3 separate regions of the Homo sapiens genome follow, and all the other regions are linked to region 3. The links are contacts of gene promoters, found by promoter capture Hi-C in blood cells and fetal thymus (Javierre and others, 2016). All regions are on one chromosome and are shown on one strand. Each heading gives the region's core, a stretch centred on a gene start or on the middle of the fragment in contact. The rest is flanking DNA. Distances are from core to core; before and after follow the strand shown. Region 1 overlaps MRPL14 (mitochondrial ribosomal protein L14). Region 2 has its middle 22 kb from the start of SCIRT. Region 3 holds the start of TMEM151B (transmembrane protein 151B).

Evidence for each region. Contacts are between HindIII fragments. The CHiCAGO score rates a contact against its expected background, and 5 or more counts as called.
Region 1: a fragment that was not itself captured here is called in contact with the fragment with the promoter of TMEM151B in region 3 in 1 of 17 cell types (naive B cells); the score reaches 5.3 in naive B cells.
Region 2: a fragment that was not itself captured here is called in contact with the fragment with the promoter of TMEM151B in region 3 in 7 of 17 cell types (naive B cells, M2 macrophages, megakaryocytes and 4 more); the score reaches 7.3 in naive B cells.

The regions. Positions count from the first base shown.
Region 1 is chr6:44,114,508-44,118,746 of GRCh38, forward strand. It overlaps MRPL14 (mitochondrial ribosomal protein L14), which reads right to left. Exons shown (of 3, transcript NM_032111.4): 2 at 2,034-2,122. The coding sequence starts at 2,104. Among named protein-coding and RNA genes, the nearest start is that of MRPL14, 11 kb to the right of the region's middle. RefSeq lists an enhancer at 2,699-2,868. The HindIII fragment of the contact is 188 bases long and covers 1,800-1,987 here.
Region 2 is chr6:44,094,446-44,098,801 of GRCh38, forward strand. No RefSeq gene overlaps it. Among named protein-coding and RNA genes, the nearest start is that of SCIRT, 22 kb to the left of the region's middle. RefSeq lists silencers at 2,307-2,601, 2,379-2,548. The HindIII fragment of the contact is 6,139 bases long and covers 1-4,356 here.
Region 3 is chr6:44,268,384-44,272,291 of GRCh38, forward strand. It overlaps TMEM151B (transmembrane protein 151B), which reads left to right and starts at 2,067. Exons shown (of 3, transcript NM_001137560.2): 1 at 2,067-2,494. The coding sequence starts at 2,360. The HindIII fragment of the contact is 13,529 bases long and covers 1-3,908 here.

The DNA.
Region 1 (4,239 bases), core at 644-3,143, 150 kb before region 3:
GCTTTCCAAAAGGACTCTAAGGACTTAAAGGAATCCCTTATGGGCTAGGCCTCACCCACTGCCTATCCTGAAAAACCTGCTTCCCCAGAATACACCATTCCCTAATTTTCTTTTTTTTTGAGACGGAGTCTCGCTCTGTCGCCCAGGCTAGAGTGCGGTGGCGCCATCTCAGCTCACTGCAAGCTCCACCTCCCGGGTTCACACCATTCTCCTGCCTCAGCCTCCCAAGTAGCTAGGAATACATGCGCCTGCTGCCATGCCCAGCTAATTTTTTGTATTTTTTAGTAGAGACAGGGTTTCACCGTGTTAGCCAGGATGGTCTCGATCTCCTGACCTCATGATCCGCCCGCCTCGGCCTCCCAAAGGGCTGAGATTACAGGCGTGAGCCACCGCGCCCGGTCCCCTAATTTTCTTATTTACATGTTGCTGGGAACTAGAAGATATGGGTAAGTTTACTAAGGGAATTCTCTGACACAACATACCAGAAACTGGTAATAAGTCAAGGTAACAATCTTCTGTTTTAATACATTTTTTCTCATTAGAAAAAAAAATTTTAGAGAGTACTTATTGAAGGCAGACAAGGTATTATTAAGCAAGCTGATTACAGTGGGATTCCTATTTTCCTGATGCTAGCACCTGATGCTGGTGTTTCCGCAGGGTAATCCTAGGACCTCTTCTCTCGTTTTTTATGCCTACTCTGGGCAATCTTACCCATTAGCATTGCTGCCAACTAGTAAATTCCATCTCCAGCCCCGCCTCTCTTCTATATTCTAGTTCTATATATTTCCACTCTCCTCAACTCCCTACAACATGCTCTATAGATACTGCAAACTCAGTAGGTCCCAAACTCATCTCACTGCCTCCCCTTGCAAACCTCCGCCTGCTGCTACACTTATCTAGACGATGGCTTCTCCAGCAGTACCAGAAGCCAAGCCATAAACCTCTCTCCACCAACATGAACTGGCCACCAAGTCCTGTTAATATCACCCCCTAAGCACCTATGTCCTTTCTCTCCAATCCCGCCAACAACTTCCTTCATTTAGCAGCTCACTCTCCTACACCAAGACTGTGACATTAGTGTCCTAGTTGGTTCCCATTGCACTTCACTTTGCCAACAAAGAGCTCTCTTTAGAATATAAAAGTGATGCTACTCCCCACCATCTACACTGTCAACAACCTTGTCCCAATTTACCTACCTTCTAAGGCTACACATCCTACCACTCTGGGCAGGAGAACCAGGAACCACTTCCCCAAGCACACCCTGCCTCCCAATTCTCCCTGGAGGCCTAGACAGGATCTGCCCCCATCTCCCTTTTGAGAAGACTGCCTCCACTCTTTCTCCTCCTCTTCCTCCACTAGCAGCTCCTATATGACGCCTTCCAAAGCACTGTACAATCCTCTATTATAATATTCTATCACATTTTCTTAGAGTTACTTATTTTCAAGTTTGCTCCTGTGGCTGACAGTGAGAATTCTTTCAGGACAGAAAGCAACTCTCTTTCATCTCTGTATGGCCAACCCCAGGTGCGGTGCTCAGGAAATGCCTGTGGGATGAGGGCATGACGGGGCCAGGAGGCATGTCTGCCAACAAGCGTGCCTCCTGTGCTCTCCTGGCTTAGCATCTACAAGGAGGGGAGGGTGTCACACTTCTATCATGCTCAAGTTCTTGGTAATAAGCATGTATTATTTTTGTAATTAAAAAAATTCCGTTTTTAAAAGGATTTTAATGCTCTAGGGGAATGATAGGGTTGAGAGATGTCAGATTCACTGTAAGAGTCTTGCAAGGACTGAAGAGTAAAAGCTTCCGCCATATGCCATTCCCCATCACACTTCTAACAGCAACATCACCTCTTTACCTATCCCCCATCCTGTGACCAGACCAACCAGGCCAGCTCAGCCTGATCACTTTAGCTTTCCCCAACCCCATGCCCACCTCCCTGAGTTTTTACTCCTGTTCTAGTCACCGTAATACCCAGCCCTGATAGGAAGCTTACACAAAGACACAGTTTTAAGAACTTAATGGGAAAAGTTACCTGAAACAGTGATGGCTCAGCACTCTGCTTACACAGGTGAAGGGGCCCCAGAGCCCAGTAAAGAAAGCCATGGGATCCCAAGATAGATCCTGCAGGAAAAACGAGAGGGGGAAAAATTGGTTTCTAAGTCAGAGCCCTTAAAGCCAGTTTTCTTTGGGGACTTGTGTGGGAGATGGCACTTCCAGCACAAGATCATTAGTCACAAAATATAAATCTTAGTGGTTAAAGGATACACAGATGATTAGACAGAGCTGTAGCTCCGATTTTGCTGATTCACATTCTAACTCTGGGGTTGGAGAGGGAGAATGGCCCACAACAGCTTCTGCTATAAAAAAATACAACAGCACGGAGAATGCCTTCCTTATTATATCACTTCCACAGGCAGGAGGAAAATATGAGCCCTTGGTTATAAACCCAGCCAGGGACTTCTTCTCGAGTCCTCCATAGAGGAAAAACTGCACACTATTGCCCTTTTTGATATTCATATGCCTTCTGAAACCAGCACTTTAACTCCCTAAAAGAAAGTAAATTATCTAAGCAGCCACCCAAGTTGTCTATCACTACATCACCTTTCCCCCAAATGTAAAGGCCAGAACACCTGTACAGCTCAAGGCCAGCAAAGCAAAGCCAAAGGCTGCTCTTGCCAAGTCAAAGACCAAAGTCTTTATTTGGGTCAGTCTCCCAAACACTGTAACATGGAAAACTGACCTACACCATACTACAGCTGAAAGTGGGCTTTGGGAAACCAACTTGAAGAGTTAGCTAAAAGAGCAAACACCAACCCAAGACTTGTGACTCCAGTTTTCAGAATCTCAACCCTGTTGCTCCCTAGCACTAACAAATATGGAGGCTGCCAGTGCCCTGAAACACCTGAACATCACTTCAGAGCATGCTTCAGAAAGGCCTGTAGCCAGCTGCAAAACACACCTGTTTTTCCACCCAAACGTTTGGCAGCAGAGGTGCCCATTCAAGAGGTCTGCCGAGAAAAGCCTCTACACTGTAGTATTTACACACAGCTTTGCTATGCACAAGTTCAAACCACCTCAGATAAGATTTTATTTAATAAGAATGTTAGGGTGGGGCAGGGGAATCCACTCCTCCCCAGGAATACCTAGACACTCCATACTTTTTTTTCTTTCCTTGAGACAAGTCTTGCTCTGTCACCCATGCTGGAATGTAGTGGTGCAACTGCAGCTCACTGCAGTCCCGAACTCCCCAAGCTCAGGTGATCCTCCCACCTCAGCCTCCCAAGTAGTCAGGACCACAGACATGCACCAGGACGCCTGGCTAATTTTTTGTGTTTTTTTTTTTTTTTTTTTTTTTTTTGTAGAGATGATGGTCTCACTATGTTGCCCAGGCTGGCCTTGAACTCCTGAGTTCATGCAATCCTCCCGCCTCAGCCCCGCAAAGTGCTGGGATTATGGGTGTGAGCCACCCACCACACCTGGCCTTTAAATGCTTATTAACTACAATTTAGCCTCAAATCCCAAACTTACTCCCAAATGTTTTCCTTAAGACAACCCATGAAGCATCAGCCAAAATGTAATTATGATCAGAAAAATCAAATGCAAAAGAAGGCAGCTAATGTATGCAACTACTAACATCTGACACACAGAGAATCACAGACTACCAAATGAGACTAGCTTTACTTTTACTGGTGAGATGACCCTGGACAAGTAACCAAACTGTTGAGCTTTGGTTTACCATCTGTAACACAGGGATACTAATAGTATCTGCCCCCAAGGTAGTTATGAGGATTCAATTAGATAAGCCATGCAAAGCACTTAGCACAGTGCCTGGCACTCATTACCTATTAGCTATCATCATCATGATGTCATATATCATTTTAAAGATTAGAAAATTGATATACAGGCAGATTAAGTGACTTGTGTAGAGTCCCACAATTAGTCAAGGGCAGAAACAGAACTGGATCCAGGTTCAGTCCAAGAGTGTTCCAACCGCACTCTGCAGCCTTGCTCTGCTATACCAAAGCTCATTTCACAGGAGAGCCCTGGGTGTCAAGCAGCTTTAAGGGTCATTTGGCCTCTTTCTGTTTCTTTATTTATGAACACTTATCAAATGGTTACAATGTGTCACACAGCAGGCTAAGTGTCTTACATTACTATCTCATTTAAACCTCATGGCCGGGCACGGTGGCTCACGCCTGTAATCCCAGCACTTTGGGAGGCCGAGGTGGGCAGATCAC
Region 2 (4,356 bases), core at 1,164-3,663, 170 kb before region 3:
GATAAGCCCTAGAAGAAAATAAACAGAAAGTAAGATGAAGCAAAACCAGGCGGGGGATTTAGAGAAGGTGGTTGCAGAGGGCCTCTCTGAGGAGGTGACATTGGAAATGAGGTGGAGAATGGAATGAGAAGGAAACATTCCAGGTAGAGAAGGGCAGGTGCAAAGGCAGGGACGCAAGAAAGGACTGAGAATGTTCAAGGAGGGGCAGGGACGTTGATGTGGGTGAGATGTGGAGAGCAACAGGAGACAGGAGGCAGGCAAGGCTTTGCAGGCCTGGTGAGGAATCCGGGTTAAATATGAGCATTATCCCCATTTAGTAGATGAGAAAACCAAAGCTCAGAGGTTAAGTAACTTGCCCAGGGTCGCATAGCTGGTGAGTAGCCAAGCTGAGATTCCATCATATAGTCTGGTAACAAAGTCCATGTTTTCTTTCCTCTACTCACTGAACAGGAACTGGCTGGCTGTGACAAAATGTGATAACTGTTAAGTGATTAATGACAAGTGGTTTATGACAGAAGCCTGGGGTGGGGGGACACAGTTTGCCGGGGAAGTCTTCATGGAGGAACTAACTGGGTCCCTAAGAATGAGGAGGATTTTGCCAGGTGGAAAAGTGGGGAGGACGAGCGCTCAAAACAAGGAGAATAACTTGAGCAAGGCCAGGGATGTGGAACATGAGGCCTGGTGGGAGCTGAGAGGCAATGGAGTTGCTGAGAGTAGAACTGGCGGGAGATGGGCGTGGAAGGCAGGGTGGGCCAGACCAGAAGGGACCCTGAATGCCTACCAAGGATGTCTACATTGAATTTCTGGGCAACGAGGAGCCAAGGCAGGTTCTTCAACAGGCTGAGCTGTACTGTGCTTTAGAAAGATGACTGTGATGCAGGGGCCTGGAGAGGCTGGTGTGTGGGGAGGGGCAGCTAAAATAAATGGCCAGAGGCTGTAGAGAGAGGTGGGGCAGGACAGGGCCCGTCAAGCCCCAGAGGTAACCAAGACTGAGAAGGAGTTTCACTCTTGTTGCCCAGGCTGGAGTGCAATGGTGCGATCTTGGCTCACTGCAACCTCTGCCTCCCGAGTTCAAGCGATTTTCCTGCCTCAGCCTCCTGAGTAGCTGAAACTACAGGCGTGTGCCACCACACCCAGCTAATTTTTGTATTTTTAGTAGAGACAGGTTTTCACCATGTTGGCCAGCTGGTCTCGAACTCCTGATCTCAGGTGACCCACCCTCCTTAGCCTCCCAAAGTGCTAGGATTACAGGAATGAGCTACCACACCCGGCCAAGAAAGTATTTTTACAGACCCCAAGAATGGGGTGTCCAGCTGGGCGTGGTGGCTCATGCCTGTAAAATCCCAGTACTTTGGGAGGCCAAGGTTGGCGGATCACCTGAGGTCAGGAGTTCGAGACCAGCCTGGCCAGCATGGTGAAACCCTGTCTCTACTAAAAATACAAAAAATTAGCTGGGCGTGGTGGGAGGAGCCCGTAATCCCAGCTACTTGGGAGGCTGAGGCAGGAGAATCGCTTGAACCCGAGATGGCGCCATTGCACTCCAATCTGGGTGACGAGAGCGAAACTCCGTCTCAAAAAACAAAAAAAGAATGCAGTGTCCCCAGCCCCAGGCCCCGCCCTGCTTCACCCCACCTCCCTCCACAGTTTGGCCTGGGTCCATGGCTGGAGTCCCTTCCTAGCCTATAGCCCCAGGCCCTGCTGCAGTGACCCCCATCAGCCCAGGGCATTCTGTTCATGCCCCATGACTCTCATGAAGGATGAGAGCAGGGTGCTGGCTTTACAGGAGTTGGGTGAACCTCAGATACTGAGAGTGGACAACACTTACACAGCCCTGACCCGGAAAGGGGACCTGTTTTAAGTGCCTTATTTTGACTCACTTCAACCCTACAAGGTACGTACTATTACATTCCAAGGAGGGGAAACTGATGCACAGGGGACTTGCCCAAGGGATGTGAACCCTGGCAGTCTGGTGCCAGGGTCTGTCCTCCGTACTCCACCTCAAGGTAGTCATTGCTCTCTCTAGACTCTGAGTGTCTCTACCTGCTCTCCTCTCTCCTCTTTGCTTTCACAATGATCCTGCCAGATGCTCTCTTTCCTGCCAGAAGGGAGGGCTACATGTGAAAATCTGGCATCAGAGTCTCAGCCACTCCCTTCTCAGGAACCACCTGCCTGCCTGCCATAGCAGGCGGTGAAGAGCCAGCCCTGACATCAGACAGCTCCTGGAGGCAGGCAGGCCTGTCTGAACCCTCCTCCCTGCTGCAACAGAAATGGCTACCAGCCCCACTGGCCAGGCCTACAGCAGGCTGTGCCTGGCCCCCACTTGACAGGCAGCACTCACCTCTCACCTCTGCTCTGGGGGCCCAGCTGAGGCAGCACCTGCCCAGGATGTCATGGTGCCATAGTTGCACCAGCTCCAGGACCAGGGCAGCTGAACGCCCCTTTGCCCACTAGATGGCACAATGTGCACAGAAATGTGGGTTGACCGCTTGGCCACCCTTTCCACCTGCAGAGGAACTGGATTTCACCACACTCTGCATTTATCTCATTTTTATTCTCATTCCTCATCCTAACCCATAGCCAACCATTTGTATGTGTCCTTGCAAAACAAGTGCATGTATTTTTTAGTTTCACAATTAGTAATATATATATATATATATATATATATATATATAAAAAACACACACACACATTATAGATATATTTCTTAATTGTTTTCGCTCAGCACTGTATTTTTAAACCTCATTCATGTTGCTGTGAGCACATTTAGTTTCTGGTGGGCACCTTCCACATTTATTTACCCACTCTGAGGGCGACAGGCACCCAAGTTCCCTCCAACACCCCAGCAACCCTGCCATGACCGTCCTTGACAGGAACCGTTACGGCTCGGCCTGAAAACCTAAGAAGCGGAATTGCCAGGTTACAGGGCATGCAGCGACTTCATTTGGCACAGTACTGCCAGCCAGCTCTCAACCCACCCAGTTCTTGGAGGGTTCCTGGGGAAAAGACGCCCAGCCTCCTAGGACTAGTCAGCCTAGCACCCCTTCCTGTGGGGAGGGGCCCCAATCCTTTCTGCTTGGGCCCAAGGGAGATGGAGAGCCAGTGGCCTCTGTCAAGAGCGTCTTGCAAAGGTAAGACCTTAAGGTCCTACATCTCCCCTGGGCATTTTTTTTTTTAAGTAAAGGGCAATGGCTGGCCTGTTAAATCCCCCACATCCCTCTCTTCAGGAGCCTTTCTGATTACAAAGCCCATTCTTTTTCTCCCTTCTCCTCCCACAGAACTATCCCAGTTTCCTGCATTTTCCCATTTCTCTTCCTCTGCCCATCCCTTCCATGTGAACACCCTACACTTACTAGCTATGTGTCTGTGGACAAGTTACTTGGACTCTCCCTCTTTGTCTATAATATGGAAATAAGTAATATCATTACTAATAATAGGCACACAGGCATAATCCCTCCCTGGCCTCTGCACACAGCCCTCTCTCTAACTCAATGCTGCCCCACTTCCCACATATATTTAAGTAGCTCAAGCCCCTCCTCCCCCAGGAAGTCATCCCTGATTGAACCAGATACAGTCCCAATGTCCTTAATCCAACTGTCACCTACTAAGAGCTCAAGTGATTATTTTTGGCTGAAATTTGAAATAACAATAATGGCTATGATTGATACGCTGAGCACCTACTATGTGCCAAGAATTCTACGGCCTACTCCATATCCACACAAGAGCCCTGGAAGGCAGACATTGTCATCCTGACTTCTCAAATGAGGAGGCTGAGACTCAGAGAGTAAGGTGACTTGCCTGAAGTCACTGGCAGGTAATTGTCAAGGTCAGGACTGGAATACAGGCTTGTCTGATATAAAAGCTCTACCCCACACCACCTCCTTCAGAATCCCTTCCTCTTGCCCTCATTCCCCCATACACATGGTATGTGCATTGCATTTTAAAATTATTTGTGATTTTAAGTACACAAATAATAGAGGGATATAGTCTCTTTATTAAAAAATTAAAGCACTACAGAGCTGTGTCACCTTTGACCAGGAACCTTCTACCTCCCTCCTCCCCAAAGGAACTCCCACTATTAGCACTGTCTTGGGTATCATTCTTGTGCTTTTTTGCCTTTTTTTTTTTTTTTTTTTGAGACAGGGTATCTTGCTCTGGTGCCCAGGCTGGAGTGCAGGGAATGTAGTGGTGTGATATCACAGCTCACCACAACCTCTGCCTCCCAGGTTCAGGTGATCTTCATGCTCAGCCTCCCAAGTGGCTGGGATTACAGGTGCACACCACCAGGCCCAGCTAATTTTTGTATTTTTAGTAGAGACGGGGTTTCACCATGTTGGCCAGGCTGGTCTCGAACTCCTG
Region 3 (3,908 bases), core at 817-3,316:
CTGAGGCTGGGCCCCTCGTCTTTCTCTCTGTTGTTTTCTGGTTCCCTTTGTGCCCCCACTCCCCACCTCCACCCACCCCAGCTAGGCTCATCTTCAGGAAACAGGCCTGGTTTCCATGGTGACCAGCCGGTCAGCTGGCTCCTTCCACCGCCCCCTCCTTCACCCCCCTTTCTTGTAGCTTCCAGGGAAGGGTACTGTGTGTGAATGGAGAAGGCAGGGGTAGCCTTTTGTCTCTTGGGAGCTCTAGCATTGGCCAAAAAGAGCTAAACTGTCCCTCCTCCAAAGCCCTTTGAAGTGGAGACAGGAAGGCAGTGGGGGTGGGTGTCAAGAGGAAGATTATGGTGCCTAAATGGGGAGCACGAAAGGATCCTCTGTGGGTTTGGAAAGGCCAAGGTTAGGGGCTCTGCTCTCTGTGGGGGAAGGGGTTGAAACTGGAACAAGAGGGGCTGGAGTTAGCTGTGAGGCCAGCTTCCCAAAAAGCATGGGCAGGAGATGCTGGAATGAACCACCAAGTGAGATTCTGCCTCTGCCAAGGGAGTGAACCAGACCCCCGCCTCTTCTGGACAGCCGCCTTCCTCTGGGCAGGGAGAATGGACCCATCAACCTGGAGAGGACCATGCAGGCTGGATAGCTCTAAGCAATAGGTGGACAGAGAGCCACCTTCACCTCACCTGGAAAGGGAAGAGTAGTAAAATGAAGGCAGGGCCAGGAGTGGGACTAGAGGGGTGGGAGCAGTGGCTCTCCTGTCCCCAACAAGGGGAAGGAACATCCTGGGCAGATCAGTGTGTTTGTACCCTATCCCCCAAAATCAGACATCGAGGCTTTGCCCCAAACTAACTTCCTACCCACAAATATTCCCCATAGATTTTGAGTGGGAAAGATCTGAATTCTAGGACTAGCTCTGTGAGTGCTAGCAGGTGACCTTGAGTAAGCCATTCACTCTCCCTCTGCCTTGGTTCCCTGTGAGTAATTGGGGAGAACAGTTACTGTATGTCAAAGACTCTAATGACACATAGTAGGATTCCACAGTGACTGTGTATGCACAAGATTGATCATGCATGGCTTTTATTATATTCTTCATAATGGTTGTTTTTCATGTTCTTTTCTCCCCATTAGACTTTGTGCTCCTTGCAGGAAGGAAACTGTGTTTCATTTCTGTACTGGGCACACAATAGGTACCCAACACCTGTTTACTGAATGGAGACATCCAGAAATGAATGAATGAATAAATGTCAGGGTCCTTCCTGCTGTGCCAGGGGATACAGGGAAAAGCAGTGTGGGGTGGATGGCCTGAAAGGATAGGCTGCCTGCAGTGGCTCAGCCTGGCTTGCTTCCTACACCTACAAGTCAGAGCCTTAGAAATTGTCCAGTCAACTTCCTCACTGCACAGATGAAGAAATTAAGGCTCAGAGACAGGAAGGCACTTGCCCAAGGTCACATAACTCCTTAATGACAGATACAGAATTCAGAATTAGAACTCAGGTTTCCTGCCCTCCAGCCTAGGGTATTGCACACACTTCACTGCTTCTCTGGAGCTGTTCTTTTAGGGAAGAAAGATGGTTCAGTGAAGGCCGGTTCCAATGCCCTCCCCTCTGCCCTCTGTTAGTCCTTTCCCACATCTAGCTTCAATCTCTTCCCTTTCCCCCTATTCCATTCCTCTGGAAGTCTAGCTTCTGCCTTAACCCTTCACCACGAAACTGGGAGTAAGGATCTTCCCTAGGGTTCCAAGAATCAATTTCCTCTCCCCACTCCTCTGCCCTGGGAACTTGGGGGAACCAGAGATGTGTGTGTGTGTGGGGGGGTGCTGTTGGTTGAACCTCGGGCACCGAGTCCACGGAGAACAGATGGAGAGGGGTTGCGGCACAGATTCTCCCAGGATAGGAGCGCGGGAGGGAGGTGCAGTGAGCAGGGCTGGGAGCGGGGAAGAGGTGTGGGGAGTCCCTGTTGCTTTACCCCTTCGGGGGGTGGTTATTAGGTAGGCTTGGGAAGGCGGAGTTTGGGGGGCTGGGGGCGGGGCTCGGCTGCGCTGGCAGGAAAGGGGGGGCGCGCTGGCTCCAGCTCGGCTCAGACAAAAGGCGGCGGCGGGAGCGGGCGGGAGGCGGAGCGGCGCCGCGAGGGCCTCAAGGTGACACCCGCCCCCGGCCCCGGCCCCCCCCGGCCCGGCCCCCCAGCCTGCCTCCCACCCTCAGCCCCCAGCCCCTTACTCCCGGTGCCCTTTCCGGGCCCCCTCCCCCGGCGGGGGGTGGGGAGCAGCGAGGGCCCCGCCCCCTCCCGTCCTCTCCCCAGGGCCCGCGCAGGATGCCCCCGGCCCCTGGCAGCCCCCCGGGAGGTCCTGAGCTCGACGCGCCCCCTCTACGCCATGTCCCCCCCTGGCTCGGCCGCGGGAGAGAGCGCCGCCGGCGGCGGCGGCGGCGGTGGCGGCCCCGGGGTCTCGGAGGAGCTCACGGCGGCGGCGGCAGCGGCGGCGGCGGACGAGGGCCCCGCCCGAGAGGAGGTGAGAGTCTAGGGCGCCCCTTCCCCGGGCGCGGCCGCAGCCTGGCCCCCCATCCCCCATCGCACGCGTCCCCCGCTGGTTCCGCCGCAGCGCGGCCGGCGCCCCGCACCCCGAGCCGGCCGCTGCAGCCGCAGTCCGCGCCGCCGCCCCCACCCGGCGGCCGGAGCTGTCCGCGGTGCCGGGGAAGGGGCCGCGCCGGGGGCGGGGCTCAGGGGTCCCGGGCAGGGGGAGGGGCCTAGGGGCGGAGCCTCGCGGATCCTGGGCTTATGAGAGTGGGGGCTATGCTCTACCGGGGTGGGGACGGTGGCGGGGATCCTGTCTCACAGAGGAGGATGCTACCTTGAAGGCCAGGAAGGGCGGCTTGTACGGGCTACAGAACGAGGAGGGTACCATGGGGAAGTGGTGGTGGTACCTGATCTGGGACCCTAAGGAGGTCAGATGTGTACGGGGGGTCCCGCCTGTGGTCATTGGGAGTGTGTGTGTGTGTGTGTGGGGGGGGGTGTGCACCTCTCTCTCACGAGGCTCCTGCTGCTTCCTCATATCCCTAGTTGGGGTCCCTAGTACTCAGTCCTCTGAACCTGAAGACAAAGAGACGGAGGAAAGTACCAGGAGCACCCCCACTCCAGCCTCCCATGCACACTTGTGCACACGCATGCACCCTGTACTAGGGCAGAGGCACACAAGCGGGGATGGGCCTGCAGGTAAAGCCCCTTTCAGAGGTACCCACATGGGGACAAGCACATAACCAGGTAGGCACACGAAGGGGCCCGTATGTTCATACCTCCTAAGGACAAGGCTCCCCGAAAGGCACATGTACCCTAATCTCCTTGTCCACATGTACTGTGTGCTATTTCCTAGCTCGCCTAACTATCCATACTTCTAGATCCAGGGACCGATGCCTATTACTGTACCCTTCTTTTCCACTCTTTTCCTCTCTTTCCTGGCTGGCCTCTAGGTCAGGCCTGAGGAATTGAGGGGGTAAGTCAGGATCCCAGCAGGAGGTTGTGTGTGTGTGTGTGTGTGTGTGTGTGGTGGGGGATGGGTTCCTAAAGCTAGACAGCACAGAGGAGGGGTGGGAAAACAGAGGCCACTACAAGAAATTAAACTCAACACTCAATTAGGATGTGGCTGCTGGGGGCCAGCACCATGGTAGGCACCTAGGATGCAAAGAGAATGAAGCATGGGCCCTCAGGAGTACCCAGTGTAGTGGGGAGCCAGACATGTAAACAACTCCTGGGCCAACCCTGGGACAGAATGTGCCAGGAGCTTTAACAGACAGGCTCCAGGAGAGTACCAAAAATAATTTTCTCTTGATAAATTGCTGGGCTTCAAACGTTGTCCTCGCTACCCCAGTCCCACATCCCCTATGCCTGTCCTCTCCTCAGCCACATGCCTCTGCCCTTCTGGATACCTC